Regions from separate parts of the Homo sapiens genome. Here all the other regions are linked to region 2. The links are contacts of gene promoters, found by promoter capture Hi-C in blood cells and fetal thymus (Javierre and others, 2016). All regions are on one chromosome and are shown on one strand. The core of a region is centred on a gene start or on the middle of the fragment in contact, and the rest is flanking DNA. Distances in the headings are between cores, read along the strand shown. Region 1 holds the start of LOC105370569 (a long non-coding RNA gene). Region 2 holds the start of TMED10 (transmembrane p24 trafficking protein 10). Region 3 overlaps DLST (dihydrolipoamide S-succinyltransferase). Region 4 has its middle 22 kb from the start of BATF. Region 5 overlaps PROX2 (prospero homeobox 2). Region 6 overlaps JDP2 (Jun dimerization protein 2). Region 7 overlaps JDP2 (Jun dimerization protein 2).

Region 1 (2,700 bases), core at 172-2,671, 340 kb after region 2:
TCTTTAAATGACAAGATTATAAAAATGGAGACCAGATTAGTGGCTGCCAAGGGTTAGAGATGGTGGGGTTGGGGGACTAGGAGAAAGGTGGAGGGTGGTTACACCAACCTACATATATGAAAGAATTGTATACAAATATACCCATACCATGTATTCCATGCCACGAAAAGAACAGAGATGCAGCTGAAACAATTTCTGAAATTTTTCAGTAAACCTCTTTATATTATGAAGGTACCTTTGGAAAACCAAAGAAGGAGGTGGGGGGGAGAGAAAATGTGAATATTTTATATATGATCTGAATGACCTCTAAAACATACTGGTAAAGGAAAAATAAGGTAGTGTGTGTACAAAAACCAGGTAAAAACATTAATACTTAATGCTTATCCACACAATTTTTCTCAACACTGGTTGCCTCTACAGATGGAGTCGTGGGAGGCTGAGGGTTAAGATGGATGGGACACTTGAACCTCCTGAGTTTTATACCTTTATGAACGCATTATTTATTCACAAAGTTACTTTCTTCTTGAATATGTGAAAATCAAGGCAAATCAATGATTCTGTGCCCTCACCTATGTTTATACCTGTGGTCTGACAACTACTTTCTGTTACTACTCAACCCCCTCTAAGTACTAAATTACCTTTTACACCTGAGCCTCTCAAGCCTCCGTACTAGTTCTGAAAATCAATGTCACTGGTTACCTGAAAATGCTTCTGAATAATTACTCTTTCAACACACTGTACTATTACATATGACATAGCTCAGTCTATGATAGCTGACTATAAAACGTGACAACTATCTTCAAGCCAGCTGGATATTTTGAATTTCAAAAAGAACACATGAGAACAAGTCAAAAAGTAACGATGATGGTGACTACTGATTTTTGAGCTTTTACTATGTGCTCAGTACTGTGCCAAGTAGCTTACATGCATTATCTCAATGTTTAATAGGTGTGTTTTGTTATTTTCATTTTATAGGCAGGAAACTGAAGCTCAGATAGGTTAAAATATTTCAGCCAGGCACGGTGGCTCACGCCTATAATCCCAGCACTTTGGGAGGCTGAGATAGGCGATCATTTGCTCCCAGGAGTTCAAGACCAGCCTGTGAAACATGGCAACAACCAATCTCTTAAAAAAAAAAAAAAAAAAAAAGGCTGGGTGTGGTGGTGCACACTTGTAGTCCCAGCTACCTGGGAGGCTGAGATGGGAGAATCACCTGAGCCCAGGAAGTTGAGGCTGCAGTGAGCTATATCGCGTCACTGCACTCCAGCCAACAGAGTGAGACCTTGTCTCCAAAAAAAAAAAAAAAAAAAAAAAAGTTGCTTAAGGTCATACAGCTTCTAGAAGAATCTGAACTTGTATTAGGGTCTGTGAATACTAAAAATGAGAAATCATTCTCCTTCTATGGCTTAGCAAAACTTATCTCAGCTGAGAATCTGTTGCTTTTATAATCCTAGTAATTAAGCCAGGCTCTAGACATCTTTACCAAAATATCTGCAATTTGCACAGTTAGCAGGATAAAATACTTAACACAAAAACTGAGGGGCCTACAAAATAAGAAAACCTCAGTTGAGATTCTTAGTCAATCTAATAAAAAATGTAATAGTCGATCTCTAGATGACATGGCACCTACTTTGGTTTGCTCAATGATCAAAACTCTTTCACGAGGAAAACAAATCCAACCAGAAAATTTAAGATTTTATCTTTGTCAATAAACTTCTGGATTTAACACTGATATCTGAATCAAACTCAAACTTCTAGAAAATTATATGAATCAACTGTCAATAGACTACTTGTGTATTATTATTAATGACTTCTGATTCTACAATCAGTCCCTGAATATTTCAAATACGGCACTTAACTCTAAATATTCTCAAACAGAAACATTTCTGGGTCTCGTCTACTGAATTCCTCACACAGGAAGTTTACAAGTAAAGTTAGATCACTTAAGTGAGAGATTTCACTTTCAGTTTAAAATGTCTGAAATCATCCTTTACAGAGCTGACAAAAAAAAAAAAAAAGCTGAAATACCCACCAAGGTATCAGAAACCTTTCCCAACATAAGATTATTTTAAGTAACATGACACCACAAAAGATTTAAAATAAAACTCATATGATTTAAACCAGCAACTTTCTAAGAGAAGACAATGTTAATAAAATTAAAATAAAATGCTAGCAAATAATGGAATCCAAAATTAGTCCTCTGCATTTCCAGGACACCTCTTAACAAACTTAAAATATTTGTATTATCAAGGCATTTTCTACCCACACCAAATTTCTTCTTCAAGATACCTTGGGCTTCCTATACGATACTGCTTCTAATAGTAATGTAAGTGCAAGAATTTTGTTAAGTCCCACATTGGACTAGCAAAATCAATTATCAGCTGGCTGTCTCTATTACTCTTTTTGGTGCCAAATCTTTTTTCATTAATCTCCTTGCATGAAGGTTGTTATACCCATTTTCTAAAGTAGGAGCACTCTATGTTCATTCTCTAAGGTCACGTAATCTATATCTTCTGAAAATTGGCAGAGGCCGTTTCTGACTATGTTAACTCTTCCCCAGCTTCCCACCCTGCCCTGGTATAAGAGCACAGACATAAAGCCATGGCTGTAAGGTGAAAACACACATATGCAAAATTACCCATGATTCCAAGTGACTCACGGATAATCACCACTCATTTCATTGGCATTCTAACTACTGTC
Region 2 (2,702 bases), core at 24-2,523:
GGTTCAAGCAATTCTCTGCCTCAGCCTCCTGAGTGGCTGGGATTACAGGCGCCCGCCACCAAGCCCAGCTAATTTTTTTGTATTTTTAGTAGAGACGGGGTTTCACCATCTTGGCCAGGCTGGTCTTGAACTCCTGACCTCGTGATCCACCCGCCTCAGCCTCCCAAAGTGCTGGGATTACAGGTGTGAGCCACCGCGCCTGGCCGTTTATTTTAATATATTCTTCAGCTCTGAATATTTGCTAGTATCCCAGTAATAGTTTGTTAAATCAATAAACGTGTTGACATACATGCATAGCATAATGTCTGGCACACAGTAGGTACTCCATTGAATGAATGCATGAATTATTACCGTGTCAATTTGCTTGTCTATTTGCAAATGTTAATAGTTAATTTGATCCCTAAAGTGTTTGTGAACTTAAAACACACACATACGCACTTTCCCTGACAACGCTTATCTGCTAACCCCTTAATTATGTTCATCTGAGACTGGACCAAAACATGTTGTTTTATTCAATTTAAATACCAAATTCAAATTTATTTTGAATATAGCTTAGAACACATTCAATGTTTGCTAAAATAATAATAATAATAATAATAATAATAATAATAATAATACCATGTACATTCAGTTAGCCAGACAATTACTCCAGCCCAAATACCCTGCTATGGGACATGAACCGGATGTCTGCCCGGCACACATTCATCAGGTGACCCCTAAAACTTCTTCTCTAAGGTCCACACTGTCTAATAGCCAAGTTGAAATCTTTCCTCGAAATTTTCCTCTCTAGTGTCTCAGTGCCCCAGGTGTCATCAAGGTGTCAAAGGCGCTTGGGAGTGCCTGCAAACCGCCCCATCCCCGGAGACACAGCCTCATTCCCCGCCCTCGCGCCTAGGCGGCCGGTGGGCGGGCCCAGCGAAGGGCCTTGTGGCTGTTTCCTATTGGGGCTTGGTTGCTATGGTGTCACTCGCCTTTAAACTCGTGGGTACATCTTTCGGAAATTAAAGGAGAATTACTTCCAGGGCTGCCCATACTTGCCATGGCCGACTCAGTAGTCACTAACTTCAACAAAAATAAAACTGTTGCAATAGTATTCTATTAAAGCTTCTTTAACTGCTTAAACTTGCGGTTTTGACATGGTACCTATCCTTTCTTCCCTTTTCAAAAGATTCGCTATAGAGTCTTTCTCTACATGCCAGTCTCCAAAATGGCGCGGACGGCATCAGAAGGTCAGAGGTGAGTCACGTGGGTCCCCCCGGTTCCGGCGCGGTTGAGGCCTTCGGTGGTGAACGAGTCTCCAGCACCATGTCTGGTTTGTCTGGCCCACCAGCCCGGCGCGGCCCTTTTCCGTTAGCGTTGCTGCTTTTGTTCCTGCTCGGCCCCAGATTGGTCCTTGCCATCTCCTTCCATCTGCCCATTAACTCTCGCAAGTGCCTCCGTGAGGAGATTCACAAGGACCTGCTAGTGACTGGCGCGTACGAGATCTCCGACCAGTCTGGGGGCGCTGGCGGCCTGCGCAGCCACCTCAAGGTGCGGCATTGGGCGACGTGGGGCCGGGAGGGAAGACGGCAGGCTTAGGCGAGGGGAGGCTCGGGTTCGGGGGAGTCGGGCCGGCGGAGGCCTGGGAGTTGTTCTGGCCTCCCGGGAGCGCAAAGGACGTGCGGTGGAGCCCGCCCCCTCACCCCGCTGGTTGCCTGTCGCGGGGCGGGGCGGGTCACCAACGCCTGGGAACCCCAAGAAGGGCTGCGAGGCTTTGGCGGATGTGGTGACACCTGAGCTGGGGCGGTTGTCAACGTCCTATACCAGTTTTGGTCTCAGATACATTGAACCGTAATTTGGTTCTCCAAATAAATGTTGGGGTGTTGAATATTTATACGGATTGGCATCATAAGATACCGCGATACCTGCAGGAAAGTAAAGGAGACAGAGCTAACCGTGATTAATAAAATGTTATTTATTGAGCATCTGCTGTGTCAGTTACTGTGCTACTTTGCATATATTACCATTTGGTTCATGCACTACCCTATGAAGTAGGTAGGTACTGTTAGCCCCATTTTACAAATGAGGAAACTGAGACTCAGAGGTAGGATAAACTAGTAAGTGTCACAGATGGAATAGATTCTTTTTTTTTTTTCAAAATTATTATTATACTTTAAGTTCTAGGGTACATGCGCACAACTTTCAGGTTTGTTACATATGTATACATGTGCCGTGTTGGTGTGCTGCACCCATTAACTCGTCATTTACATTAGGTATGTCTCCTAATGCTATCCCTCCCACCTCCCCCCACCCCACGACAGGCCCCGGTGTGTGATGTTCCCCACCCTGTGTCCAAGTGTTCTCATTGTTCAATTCCCACCTATGAGTGAGAACATGCGGTGTTTGGTTTTCTGTCCTTGCGATGGAATAGATTCTTACTTAGTTTGGTAGTTAAGTATGTTGAGGGAAAAGCGCTGCAACCTTATTCCTTCCTTGTTTTAAATTTGTAATTTCTGTAGTTGATTAAAGTCGATTATTGGTTACAAAATGGTCTCAGTCTCTAGTCCTTTTTCTTTGGTATGCCAGAATCTGGACTTGGCTCTTTTATGTAAATACCAACTATGCTCTTGGATGGTGACAACTACTGCCATAATACCAGTTTGATTCTGTTTTGTAGCTAAGAGTAGCCTGGCCTGGTCTTTGAGACATTAATATAATTTGAT
Region 3 (2,700 bases), core at 185-2,684, 290 kb after region 2:
AAAACCCTCATTGTGATGTAGAGTAAGTAAGAAGCTCATCCGCTGACCTCTTCACTTTGAGGATTCTCCCTGTAGAGTAAGCAGCCTGACAGCTGCTGAACAGGTTACTAGAGAGCATTCTCTTAGCACCACCACAAAAACACTTGGAATGCAAAGCAGCATTTAAGCAACATTCATACGCAGAAGTTAATCTGAAACACACATGGGTAGCCTTTCTCCAAACTCTGCATTATGCAATAACAGCATTCCCTCCAAACTAGTCAGTCAGTCCCAGGACTCAACCAGTTTTATGCTTTTACTGTTTTTAAAAATGAGTAACTATGCTACTGAGAGGATGCTCTCAATCTCCACAATAAATGTAACCTCGAGCCTTTCAGCTGCACTTACATCCAAACAGAATATCTAGGAGCACCCTTCTATATCCCATAAAAAGAGGATTCCAACTTAACTTTCATTATAATCCAAACACCTGTGGAGAGTGGGCACACTCCCAGTCCAAAACCTGACACGGAGCTGATGCTCAAGGAACATCACATGGGAAAAGTGAACATTGAGGTTAGTCTAGGGACTCAACATAATCACCTCAATTTCTAGGTCTGGAGGCCAGTGAAGAAATCAGATGGTCAAATTTAGAACTTTATGTCTTTAAATAAATAACCCGTGGCCACATATCTGTACTCCCCAGTGATACTTACACAACCTTCCTGCTGTTAGGGTAACCTGGTCCCTGGCATAAGGAGACCCCTGCAAGAAACAAAATAACTCTTAACCAACAACTCTTATCTCACAAAGGATACATGCTGGGAATGGAAAAGGTCTGCTCACCCCCAACCCTGAGACAGAGCAGGATCAACGGCAACGGATATAATCTTTATCATAGAGTCCTGCTTCTCAAACTTTTCCAAAGTAGCCTTAGTGGCAGAGAGCAAATGGGTATGTGAGATCGAGTGGGTATGTGTTTGGCTGGGGAGGAAAGAGAAAAAATTTGATGGCACAGCCCAAAGTGATTATATAATCTCATCTACCTTAAAAAGCCAGAACTTTTCATTATTCCTGTATGTTTTCATAATAAAATGTCTCTACTCGCCAAGTCTTCAAATACAACTGAAGCTTGAGAAAGACATGGGATGGCTTATCCTGTGACTATACATAACCCAATTTGAGAAGCAAGGAGGATGTTTGGTCTGGGTTTGAAAAGATTGGGTTGGAAATCTTATCACCTGAATCCTAGTAGCAAAGACTTGGCTACTTTAGGCTCGGGGTCTCCAGTTTGTCCTAGAGCTGAGAAAATCATGTCCCCATCTTTCAGTTTATTGACTTCCCATGCCTTTCTGAAGTCTTCCACCCTGGTCACTCTCAACAAGGTGAGAGACCCTTTCTGCCCACCAGCTGTCCTTATCATAGTTAACTGCATTTCCCCAACTGATGACTAGTAACTACAGCTGCCTCTTCTGAATTCTTTCTTATGTCTTTTTTCTTTCAGATTAACAACTCTTTCTGAACCATGGGCTCAGGACACACCAAATGAGAGCTAGCCCTCTCTTATGCCCACCTCCTCACAAGCATCCCAAGATAGGTAAGCCAGTCACCTTTATGTCCAGCAGCCAATGACTATGCAGTGCAAATTCTAAGCATAGTATGTTTTTGAACTAGAATAGATGGCGGCTCACACTGATTTTGGGAACCTGGAGTCCAATTCAGAGTTCATCCTACAGCAAATTTCATTTGTACAGTGCTTTAGGGTTTATAAAAAGCTTTCCCATAATGACCTCATTTTGATTTTACAGTCTCACAACTCTCTGAAGTGGAACGACCATCTGCCATTATTCCCATTTCATATAAGTAGGACTTTTGGAGGTTAAGCGACTAGCCCAAGGTGAATCCCTGAGCCCAAATGCAAATCCCCAAGTGCAAGGCTCTTTCCATTGTCCTGCCCACCTATGAAGTGGAGAAAATGTTTACTGACATTGTTCAGGGTTCCCACTTGAAAAACATGTTTGTTATTGAGAGTCCACTACAAGCCGACATTGTGCTAGGGGCTTTATGTTCTCATAACTCTCAGGATAAAGTCCACACTTTACGCGATCCTGTACCGTCCAGCCCACTCTATCTTTCCTGCCAGACAGGCTTCTTCCCATGTCTATCACTGGTCAAGTCCTTTCCTGTCTGAAAACCTTTGCACAAGCAATTCCCTTTGCCTGGAATACATTTTCTTGGCTCTTTTATATTCAGGTCTCAGTTAAATGTCACTTCTTCAGGGAAGCCTTTACTGACATTCCCAACCTTCCCAAGCTGGTCTACATCATCCCACCCTCTCATCACACCCTTTAATTCCTCTCTCGTAGTAACCAAAATTTATGCCCTTGTCGGAGCATAAATGTATATTTGCTCTCTCTCTCCAGCTAGCCCATAAAATCTCGAGGCTAGAGTCTATCTATACCCCTGTTACCTAGAACAGTGGCTGGCATATAGTAAGCACTCAATAAATGATCTGTTGAGTCCATGAGTAAATGAGAACATGGTGGGTTAAGAGTTCAGGATGGGTCAGGTAGACCTGGCTTATCAACAGCTGGGTGGGTGACCATGGCCAAGGCTTTTAAGCTCTCTTGTCTTGGGTTATGCATTTGTAAAATAGAGAAAATACTTTTTACTGTTTTGAGATGATTAACTAAAAAATTCACAGAAAGCACTCATATAAAT
Region 4 (2,700 bases), core at 39-2,538, 320 kb before region 2:
CCATTTGACATTTGATCTTGCAACAGTTCCCTTTAGGCGGCTCAGTTTGAATAGCATAGGATTACATTTGCTTGTCTGCAGGTCAAACCTCACTATTTAGATTGTCACTAAAGAATACACAATAAAATTATTGTAATTACTGTCTTCTGTTTTCAATTCTTAGGAACAATCTTTGAATAAAGCATGGAAGACTAAGTTATAGTAAAGTAATATAATAAAGTCATGGTAGAATAAAAAATGACAATGTTATTTATAGTGGTGTTTCTTCCGGTTTTAATTTTATTATTATATTTTCTTGTTTGTATGTTTGAAATATTTCACAGTAAAAAAAATTAAAAGTAATTGTTTATTAGCTGACCATAATCAGAAATAGAAATAGGAGATACAGAGAAGGTATTTATAAGTTCCCCAGAGAACAGACTCTGAGACTCTAAGACTTGGGTATAGGGAGGTTGTTGGAGAGTGTTCTCAGAAACATCACCTGTGAGAGTTGAGGGAGCCAAGACCAGGCAGGGGAGGAGTGAGTAGATACAAGGCCCCAGTCAATGCTGCAAGAAGTTTGGGAGGAGGCAGATGGCTCTTCAAAGTTGCTCCATTGAGGCCAATAGGCTGGCTACACCATTATAACACATAACCCATACTGACCAGTCACTGGATATGGGCTGCCCTCTGGGAGGTGGCATAATCTCTCACATAATCTCCAGGTAACTCCCTTCAGCCAAAAGCAATTCTTGGAGAGGGACTCAGCTGAGACCTCTTAGCTGCCAGCACTCCCCAAAGTTGGGGAATCAAGGCCTTGGTCCTGAAAGGGATCTGGGCAGCACGCCACACCACAGTGTCCATTACAAGGCAGAAGGAAGTCTGCCTTGTGTATTTTCCTGAACTTACACTTTGTAAGTTAGACATACTGTAAAAGGTGACGGGCCAAGAAATTGAGATGTAAGTATATTATTTAAAGTTATAAAGATTCCGATAGACTTAATATAAAAATAAAAATTGGGAGGGAGAACATGCGGTGAAATATAACTGAGTTAAATTCCTCAATATTCAAAGTATAAAGGAGTTTTCAAACAATCTTTAAAGTAGATAAACTAAGAGAGAGAAGTATAAACATATTTTAGAATTCTGCCTATAACCACAGGAGGACAAAACCTAGATCTGATTTTAAATGTTTACGTCTAAAGAGTCAGTCTAGGGGTAGGCCGGGAGATGTGGAAAACTTATGTTTTCTTTATCCTTTTGTAACTGTTTGAAATTTTATTACCACACACATGAACCATTTTTATAGTAGTTAAGAACAATAGCAACAACAACAAAAAAATCTCCCCCTTAGGAGCTGCTTGGAAAAACTTTCTCCTTTTATCTCCTTCCAACAGATAAACTGATTCAATCTGGACTCTCACATCTTATTCCTGATCCGAAAGTGTTGCCCGGAAAGCATAAGATGACCAGGCTTAGATAATACTCTACAGTTTTGTTTTTAATTTTAATTTTTTTTTTTTTGAGACGAAGTCTTGCTCTGTCACCCAGGCTGGAGTGCAGTGGCATGATCACAGCTCACTACGGCCTCTGTCTCCCAGGTTCAAGCGATTCTTCTGCCTCAGCCTCCTGAGTAGCTGGGATTACAGATGCGCACCACCATGCCTGGCCAATTTTTGTATTTTTAGTAGAGATAGGGTTTCACCATGTCAGCCAGGCTGGTCTCAAACTCCTGACCTCAAGTGATCTGCCCACCTCGGGCTCCCAAAGTGCTGGGATTACAGGTGTGAGCCACCATGCCCAGCCTTATTTTTTTTTAATTAAAATTTAAAAACCATTTAAACCTATTTACTTATTTACCATTGTATGCCCTGCAGTTTTGAGTGAACATCCTAAGGCTACCCTTTTGTGAGTTCTCCTTTTGGTTTAGTCCTGGCTTGGTTAGCAGAACCTAAAAGAATAGCCACTTCCAAAAACACGCTGGTAGGAGGTGAGGTTCCAAAGCCCAGTCCTGCCAGCTCCTATGGTGGGAAGAGCGACTGGAGCCTGGGGCCCGGGACTCCTGGCAACCCCAGCTCTACAAATGGCTGTGGGACTCTGAGAAAGCCTCTCCCAGGCTCAGGCGTCATCTGTGGAGTGGGAATAATAAAAGTAGCCACACGCTTTGTTGGGAGAGTTCAATGAGATGATGACTAGAAAGCGCTTAGGCCTGAGCACGTGGTCACCGCTCCTTAAATGTCTGCTGTGTTGGTGTCACTGCCGCTACCTTTTAGTTGTCACCGCTGCTCCTGGATTCCTCTGAAAAAGCTCAGGGAGACGCCATCTTCAAGCCTCATTAGGCATCTCCTTTGTGAAGAGCTCAGCCCCAAGGGCAAAATAAGGTCCCAGTGCTTCCAACAGTCCCTACTCTCAAGCCAGAGACAAAGAGAACAACGTCAGAGTCAATTCTCTAACTACCTTAATGACACTGAGAGCTGAGCCCTGAGCCCCGGGAAAGTTCCTGTGATGTGGTTGGAAAACTCCGTATCCCCTACTCAGCATGATGTCTCCGCCATTTGCTGGCCTGGATGTCCTGGACCCAGACAAAGCTCGACCATTTTCTGCTGTGTATGGTGTTCAGGACAGATGGTCCAGGCAGAAAGTTCAGCTCACTCTACCCAAAAATTTCACAGCAAGACCGCAGCTACGTGAATTCTACATTTTCTGTTGACAGCCCTGAAA
Region 5 (2,700 bases), core at 172-2,671, 320 kb after region 2:
GAAGAGGAGCTGGGGACAGATCACTCAGGGTCTTCTTAATGTTGCTCTGGGCCTTCAGCTTATAGTGGTGACCACATTCTGGAATTTAAGGACCTGGGAAGGTTCACTTAGCTTCTTCTATGACCCATCGGGTTCTGCCACTTGACTTATTCCTTTGGGTCTAAAAGGGTTTTGTTTTGAGACTCAAATAGGCTTCTGAAATACAATGAATACCCTAAGGAAGAAAGAATCCATAATTTGGTTGTCAGCCACCCATAAACTTAGGAGGAGAGGGTCAAAGGAATGACGTCATCTAAGGTATGGCCTCCCCAACCCCATAGCTCTACAAGCAAAAATCCTATATTGTGTAGATAATTCCTGGGGAGCAGATGAGGAACAAGAAACTTCTGGGCCAAATGGAAAAGGAGTTTTCCTCGGGGATTAAACCCAGAGAGGTGGCTGGAAACGGCCAGAGGTCTCCAGTTTAAGGAACAACTTCCAAGGTGCAATGGAGTGCCTGGAGACTAGGGGCTGGGCATATGAAGGGAGAGGAGGCTCCCCATGAGGAGGCCTGAGTGGCCCAGGCTGATCTGCAGGGCTCTGGATCTTATTGCATCATCTTTGCAACCCTTAAGTAGACACTACTCTCTTAATGTATTTCCCAGAGTAACCCTCGGGATATTAATAATTGTTGAGTTAGAAGAAAAAGTACCTTGGGGAAATACTGAGATAGTTTCTTTTCTGCAGGAATTCTCAGAGCCTTTAACATGAGTAAATGGAAGCTCTAAGAGGAGAATGTACACAGCCCCAAACCCATATGACCACTTCTAACAAGCATCTTGCAGAACTTAAGTTCTTGAGAATATATTTTGGATGTTGCTTTTTAAGCTAGCTGTGCTCACGCTGCTGCTTCTTGTGTGCAGCTTTGAGGGGAATCTCCAGAAGCTGATGAGTCTATGGAGTTGCATATCCAGGTGGGAACAGTCGTGTCCTTTGCCTGGCAACTACTGTGAGGGCAGCAGGATGGGGTGGGACCAGCTCATTACCATGCCAGAACCTGCCTTTGTGTCCTAAATGCCATGAGCGCCCCCTGCCGGTCAAAAGTGTTGGAAACACCCCAAAGCTTTCCTGGAAGTTAGCGAGCAACTGTAAAACCAATGCTGAGAACACTTCACTTGCCACCACTCTTGGAGGCAGAGATTCCACCATAGACAGATTTTCTTTATAAGAAAGGCTACCTGTCTGGGCCTTTGATAACCACTAGTTGACTCTCCATTAAATTCAGACAGCTGCAAAAACACCTCAGTCTCCCAGAATTTGCTATTTGTTGAGCACCTACATGTGCCTGTTCCTGCCCCCTAAATTGGGGATTGGGCTCAGAGAGCTTCTGGAGGTTTGGGGCCTATCCTAAGAAATACCTAAGCCAGGACTGGCTGCATGGGTGAAGTACTTGACTATCTTTGGAATGACTTGGGACCCCCTAGCAGCACCCTGGCCCCTCAACTCTTCCCTCATTCCTGCTGCCTATATTCCAAGAGATTTATTCCTGTGGGCCATGAAAGCCACCTGAGAGCAAGCTGCTTTACAGCATAAAAAGAACGTTCACATTCACATGACATCCTGTGACATAGGTAGGGCAGATGTGAAGATCACGAGGGGAGCATTGACAGAACACCTTCTCGGTGGCAGGCATTGCTACCAGCACTTCACACATATGTGCCCACCACCACTTAGCTACAATTCTGAAACCCATAAAGCTTTGACAGGCCCTATGATTTTCCCCCCCTAAGAATGATGCAATCTTTTTTTTTTGGTAGCAAAACCTGGCTTGCACTGATTGGAGGCTATTAATAGATTTTATCCCACTTAGTATAGTCATACGTTCTGCTGCAGAAATGTTAATGTATTGGATTATACACTGTCTCAGCTGTGGATGTTAATTAATGTGTGGTACACACATCGTATTATCTTTATAAGCTAACAAATTCTGAAATCCAAACTCCATTTGGCTCAGCATTTCAGATAACGGGTTTAGACCTGTATTATCTCACCGTTCTCAAGCATCCACTCTAAGATCGGGTATCCGAGAAGCAGAGACAGAGAAGGGAGCTAACTCGTCCAAAGTCCCAAGACACACTAATGAGCAACCAGGATTTAAACCCGGGATCTGATGGCCAAGTACAAGCTTTAACCACTATACTCCACATCTTAGCAATGAGGCTCAGAGCAGTTAAGTGGCTTGCCCAAGGTCACACAGCTAATAGATGGCAAAATCAGTGTCTGAAACTGGGTCTTTGGAATCCCAATCCAGGATTCTCTCCACAGCATTTGTGGATCTGTAGGAAGGGTAAGTAGGGGCTGATGGGGCAGCAGGGAGGGATCTCCTGTGCAGCAACTAGGTGCCTGGGCCACCTATAACCATAGTCAGTTGGTCTGGTTTCTTTTGGTTAAACAGATTCATCCTATGTGGAAGTCTTCACTGTCTTAAGCTACAGCTCTCGGATCTGAGATCCCAGGTTACTCTGTGTAATGCTTCTCACCCAGCCTAAGGACTGTCCCTAAAAATGCAAAGCGTATTTGTGTAAATCTTTTTTTCATTTCCGTCCTGCCCTAGTGCTAGGCAGTCACATCACAATTCTCCGACTCTTGTTAAAGGGGAAGGAATCTGTCTGTTCCCAGAGTGAGGTATAGTTTGGAATCTAATTTCCATATATGTGTATG
Region 6 (2,700 bases), core at 52-2,551, 270 kb before region 2:
CTTAATCTTCTGAGCGTCAGCTCTCTAACAACTCATACTACTAACACCACCTCATAGGGTTGTTGGAACAGATCAGAGATGACGTCTACAAAAGAAGTTTGCAAACTATAAAGTGCATTGCTTGTGTATGACTTCTGACCTGAACACAGATGTCCTCGCTCCTTCAAAGAACTGGGCTGGTTTCTTAACTGGATTACCAGGTTTTCAGCTAATGGCTACAGGTTAGAACACCTGCCAGCCCCACTCAGACCAGCTGAATCAGGATCAATATTTTTGAAAGACTTTCCGGGGAATTCTAATCAGTAGTCAGAGTTAGAAACTGCTATTCTATACCATATATCCTCCCTAGTTCTATATTAAATCCTATCAGATTGTTCTCCTTGCTCCTGGATAGATACTAGCAATAAAAAGGAAAAAAGGCTTCTTCACTGCCGCTGGTCTAAAAGGGGGTTTTAATAACCCTAGCTACTAATTCTGGAACATTGTTACATACTGGGGGATTTGTATACATTATTCCTTTTCAGCCTCCCCACAACCCTGTAAGGCAGATATTATTATTCTCCATTTTTAAAAGCACTTTATTGAGATCAAACTCACACATACCATACAATTTGTCCATTAAAGTATACAATTCACCAACTTGTATTATATCCAGAGTTGTGCAACTATCACTACAATTTTAGAACACTTTCATCACCCCCAAAAGAAACCTCATATCCCTTGGCCATCACTCCCCACTCCTCCCATCTCCCCACCCCTAGGTAACCACAGTACTGGCTCTACTTCCTGTCTCTATGAATTTGCCTATTCTGGACATTTCATCTAAATGGACCCACACACTCTGTGGTCTCTTGTGGCTGGCTTCTTTTACCCAGCATAATGTTTCCAAGGTTCATCCATATTACAGCATGTATCAGTTCTTCATTCCTTTTTATGGCTAAATAATAATCCATTGTATGGATAGACCATGTTTTATTTATTCATGCACCAATTCATGGACATTTGAGCTGCTTCCACTTTGGAGCTATTATGAATAATGCCACTGTAAACTCTCATGTATGTTTTTGTGTGGACATGTTTTCCTTTCTGTTGGGAAAGGAAATATATGTAGGAGTGAAATGGCTGGATCGCATGGGAACTCTGTTTAGCCATTTGAGGAACTGCCAGACTGTTTTCCAAAGTGGCTGCATCATTTTACATTCCCACGATCAATTCATGACGACAGCTTCTCCACATGCTCACCAATACTTGTTATTATCTCTTTTTTTTCACTATAGTCATCCTAGTGGGTGCAAAGTAGTATCTCATTGTGGTTTTTGACTTGTATTTCCTTGATGGCTATGATGTTGAGCATTTTTTCATGTGCTTAGTTGCCATTTATATATTTTCTTTGGAGAAATTAATATTGAGATCTTTTGCCCATTTTTCTACTGGGTTATTTGTCTTATTATTGAGCTGTAATCATTCTTTATATATTCTAGATACAAGTCCCTTATTGGATCTACGATTTGCAAACATTTTCTCTCATTCTGTGGATTTTCTTTTTACTTTGTGTCCTTTGAAGTACCAAAGTTTTTAATTTTGAAGATGTCCAATTTATTTTTTTTATTTTGTTGCTTTTATTTTTGGCATAAAATCTAAGAAACCACTACCTAATCCAAGGTCACAAAGATTTACAGCTGTTTTCTTCTAAGAGTTTTCTAGTTTTCACTCTTACATTTAGGCCTTCGATCCATTTTGAGATAATATATGTATATGGTACTAGGTACTAGGTAGGGGTCTATTTCCCCTATTTTTACAAGGGACGAAACTGAATTTCAAACATCTAGTGAACTCTCCAGAGCCAAACTATTCCAATGCAGCAGTCCTGCTTTGCTACATTGCCTCCAAAAAGGCAAGGGTTTTTATTCGCGGGGACTGGGGAGTTGGTAGGGTGTAGGGAGGACTACAGAGGCAAACCACGGAGGAGTTTGTCAGAGCATACACATGCACTACGCTCAGTAAAAGGGGATCCTGTAGCCACAGAGCAGAGCACAGTCAATGAGCCCCAGCATATGGCAGGTTGTACACAACCTGGAAGGGTGGCTAAACCCAGAGGAGGCCCAGGCCCTCACTCCCAGCACTTTCACATCCCGCCTGAATCCATCCATGAGTTCCTCTAGATCTCCATGCTCCAACCTCAGGCCAGGTTGCCTTGTGCCTTTTGGGCACAGTAGAAGGAAAACAGACTTAAATGGCTTCATAGTTGTTCAGCCAGATGAGCCTCACCCAGGAGAGGACTCAGTTTCCCAACTCTGAGTCCATGTTGCCGGTGGACCTGGAAACATCAAAGTAAGATGGTAGGATTGACAGAAGACTTGACAGCCCTTCTTAAGGCTGCTAAAAGATTGTTGGTTGATGGGAATACAACGATGACATTAACACCACAGGAAACAAGATAAGGGGTCACAGAAGGCAGCTTAGGGGAAAACAGAGGCTTGAAAAGCCTTCTCATTTATAGTTTGTTATGATAATTAAAACTCCAGCTGCGTCTAAACTGCATAAACAACCAGAAACTGGAAAGTCTGCTTGCTTCCCTGAAACCCAGGTCATAGGCTAATACTTCAGAAAGGTTAGTGCTGTCAGAATAGGTAGTTCACTACACATGGAATCAGTCTCTAACAAAGGTAATTTACGGACATACTGCACTGCAGTCAAGGT
Region 7 (2,700 bases), core at 137-2,636, 290 kb before region 2:
ATCTGGGTCTTCAGCTCTGCGTTCATGAGTTCCAGCCGCTCGGATTCCTGTATACCAACACAGAAGCACGCTGTGAGTTTCACGGGGACTGGCTCTGGGGAGAGGCTCTGCCTGTGGTTAGGCACAGGGCACGCTGGGCTGGCACTGGCCTGTTTTCTGCAGGAAGAAGCACAGACCCTGCTACTGAGCCCCTGGCTAACTGACTTTCTGCAGGCAGTGCCTGCCACAGCGGTGACACTGGCCTGTGTCATGTCCAGGTTATATTCTAGGGCCAGCCAGACTCACGTCCCACCTCTCTCCCCTCCCTCAATCCACCCCAGCTTCAGTGACCACCTTGCTGTTGCTCAAATATGCCAAATACTCTGCCGCCTCAGGGCCTTTGCACAAGAAAGAAAGGGTGGGCAAAGAAAGGAGGCCAGGTGGACCTAGAGCAGGTCTACGGAGCAAGCATGGGGGGGCCCAAGAGGGGACCCAGATGGCAGTGTAACGGCAACGTGCTTTGATGTGTGACAGACACATGTGGGAGATATCTTGGCCGGTGGGATCAGTGAGTGTAGTGTAGTCATGTCATTCCTCCTAAAACATGTGCTTCCTAGCTATTAGTCTATAATTATTTCAATAGCCTCTTCCTTATCCCTATAATCTGGAAGCTTTGCCCACAGACAGGGAATCAGCAGTCATCCTGCTGGATCCCAAATGAGGTTTCCAATAGACCTTGAGTGAGATTTCCAGGGAACTTCCGGCTCAGCTGGAGAGGTTCCAGGGGAAGGAAGGAATGTTGACGATTTGATTCGGGAGGTGGCGAGGGTTACATGTCCATCGTGTAGATGGGAGATGGGCATATCGATTCAAGGCTTGGGGGATTGAACAGTAAAACAGCATCTGAATGATTTTTCTTGGATTATGTCTGAAAACTTTGAGACTTGGCATTTATTCGAGGGCCAGCAAAGTTTCAGACCAGTGGTTCTCAACTAGGACTGATTTTTGCCTCCCAGGAGACATTTGGCAATGTCTGCAGACATTTTTGATTGTCACAACTCAGAGGGAGCTGTGCTACCAGCATCTAGCAGGTAGATGCCAGAGATGCTCTAAACACCCTTCAATGCACAGGCCAGCCCCACAAGTATTTAGTCCAAAATGGCGATAGCGTAAGAGATTGAGCAACTTGTATCAGTCAAAGAGCAAGCAGTAGTTGCAACTGCGTATGTGACAACCAGAGGGCCCGTAAGCCCATAAGCCTGCCAGTCCTCCTGGCAGGGTACAGGTGGAGCGGCCTCCCCAGGGGGTCCCCAGAACCCTCAGTGGGCCCAACCCTCTCCCTCCAGGGGTCCCGTCTTCCTCCCACAGCTGGTCTGACCGAACTGTTCCTTGGCTCATCTCTGAGGTGGCAGCATGAGTGCCCGGGAACTCTGAGACGGGCAGGCCTCGTGACCAGACGCTGAGAGAAAACAGCCTCACTAAAGGAAAAAAAAATGCTCGGGGAAAATATTAAAAACCAGCTCTGGTGGTTTTTGGTTCCACAGGCTGGGACGTGACTGGGAAGCTGGCCTGGTCCTCTGTTCTGAGAATTCCAAGAGAGGCGCATCTCGGAGGGCCAGGAGAGACCCCTCGTGAATCCATGGAAGCCTGTGAGCCCTCGGGCTGGGGCAGTTAGGTGCCAATGTCAGCCCCCTGCTCACTGGTGACTCTCTGGTGACCTTGGGAACTTCTCACAAACCCTCTGACCATCACGGTCTCCCCAGCCCAAGGGCTTAGTTCCATCTTCAAACTCTCCTGAGCCCCTGCCTCAAGGGGTGTCAGGGTAACCCACCCATCTGTGAGTGTTTGCTGAGGCCCTGCTATGTACAGTGAATGCCCTGGGGAATCCAAGAGCCATGAGCCCCCAACTGGCTCTTGTGGCCTTTCCACTGTAAGGGGAAGAAGCAATCTGTGCAACAAGGCAGAGCTTACTACTGTGTGACCAACAGCCACCCAGGGTTCAGAAGACCTTAGAGAGGGCTAAAGAGCGGGTCTGACCTTGGGCATGAAAGATGGGTTGACTCAGGCTGGGTTGAGAAGGGGAAGGAGGGACTTGCGGGTGGAGAACCCTGAGTGAACAAAGACCCAGGCATGGGAAAGCTTAGGATGGGTTTAGAAGGGAAAACTACTCCACTGTGATCATAGCTCGCTTTAGGACTTAGTAGGGTAGAAAGTGAGAAGGTGGGTTGAGAGCCAGCCTGTAGCTCTGGAAAGCTTGTGGGTTCAGAATCTGAGTCTAGAAGCAAGTTTCTTAACTTCTCTGAGCCTCAGTTATCTCCTCTGTAGACAGGTGAGGCTCTTGGGGATTAGATGAACTCACAGGGAAAAAGCACTCTGTAAACCAGAGAGGCTTACTGTAACTTATAAGCAAGAGAATAGCATAAAGAAGAAAGAGAGGAAGAGAAGGAAGACGTCTCAAAGAAAAATCAGCTGATCTTGGTGACTAGCTGGATTTGGAGAAGGAAGGAGATAGGGCAGAGAGCTGACTATGAACCCAATGGAGGGTCTGAGGAATGAAGCCTGGGAGGGCAGCTGTTCTGGAAAGCGGTGGGAAGGAAAAGGAGGAGTTTGTTTTGGGTACAGTGAGTTTGAAGTTAAAACTGGACATGCAAGGGGAAGCCTCTGACAGGCAGAATTCAACAGCACTGCACACATAGATCTGCCTCCTAGAAATTACCACGT

The links. The method cuts DNA at HindIII sites, captures the fragments that hold promoters and counts their contacts. A CHiCAGO score of 5 or more calls a contact.
Region 1: a contact is called between a fragment that was not itself captured here and the fragment with the promoter of TMED10 in region 2, in 1 of 17 cell types (total CD8 T cells). The highest score is 5.3, in total CD8 T cells.
Region 3: a fragment that was not itself captured here is called in contact with the fragment with the promoter of TMED10 in region 2 in 1 of 17 cell types (fetal thymus); the score reaches 6.0 in fetal thymus.
Region 4: a fragment that was not itself captured here is called in contact with the fragment with the promoter of TMED10 in region 2 in 6 of 17 cell types (neutrophils, monocytes, activated CD4 T cells and 3 more); the score reaches 11.6 in neutrophils.
Region 5: a fragment that was not itself captured here is called in contact with the fragment with the promoter of TMED10 in region 2 in 1 of 17 cell types (fetal thymus); the score reaches 5.7 in fetal thymus.
Region 6: a fragment that was not itself captured here is called in contact with the fragment with the promoter of TMED10 in region 2 in 2 of 17 cell types (monocytes and neutrophils); the score reaches 11.5 in monocytes.
Region 7: a fragment that was not itself captured here is called in contact with the fragment with the promoter of TMED10 in region 2 in 3 of 17 cell types (neutrophils, monocytes and megakaryocytes); the score reaches 7.8 in neutrophils.

The regions. Positions count from the first base shown.
Region 1 is chr14:74,837,593-74,840,292 of GRCh38, reverse strand. It overlaps LOC105370569 (a long non-coding RNA gene), which reads right to left and starts at 1,127. Exons shown (of 2, transcript XR_944033.3): 1 at 148-1,127. The HindIII fragment of the contact is 4,486 bases long and covers 1-2,700 here.
Region 2 is chr14:75,175,183-75,177,884 of GRCh38, reverse strand. TMED10 (transmembrane p24 trafficking protein 10) reads left to right here and starts at 1,273. Exons shown (of 5, transcript NM_006827.6): 1 at 1,273-1,530. The coding sequence starts at 1,306. RefSeq lists enhancers at 1,123-1,362, 877-1,449. The HindIII fragment of the contact is 2,239 bases long and covers 1,107-2,702 here.
Region 3 is chr14:74,883,630-74,886,329 of GRCh38, reverse strand. It overlaps DLST (dihydrolipoamide S-succinyltransferase), which reads right to left. Exons shown (of 15, transcript NM_001933.5): 3 at 696-744. Among named protein-coding and RNA genes, the nearest start is that of DLST, 3.1 kb to the right of the region's middle. The HindIII fragment of the contact is 644 bases long and covers 1,113-1,756 here.
Region 4 is chr14:75,499,352-75,502,051 of GRCh38, reverse strand. No RefSeq gene overlaps it. Among named protein-coding and RNA genes, the nearest start is that of BATF, 22 kb to the left of the region's middle. The HindIII fragment of the contact is 4,882 bases long and covers 1-2,700 here.
Region 5 is chr14:74,859,464-74,862,163 of GRCh38, reverse strand. All of the region lies in intron 3 of PROX2 (prospero homeobox 2), which reads left to right. Among named protein-coding and RNA genes, the nearest start is that of PROX2, 15 kb to the left of the region's middle. The HindIII fragment of the contact is 634 bases long and covers 1,105-1,738 here.
Region 6 is chr14:75,444,707-75,447,406 of GRCh38, reverse strand. All of the region lies in intron 2 of JDP2 (Jun dimerization protein 2), which reads right to left. Among named protein-coding and RNA genes, the nearest start is that of JDP2, 18 kb to the right of the region's middle. The HindIII fragment of the contact is 4,825 bases long and covers 1-2,700 here.
Region 7 is chr14:75,466,637-75,469,336 of GRCh38, reverse strand. It overlaps JDP2 (Jun dimerization protein 2), which reads right to left. Exons shown (of 4, transcript NM_001135048.2): 4 at 1-47. Among named protein-coding and RNA genes, the nearest start is that of JDP2, 40 kb to the right of the region's middle. The HindIII fragment of the contact is 1,468 bases long and covers 653-2,120 here.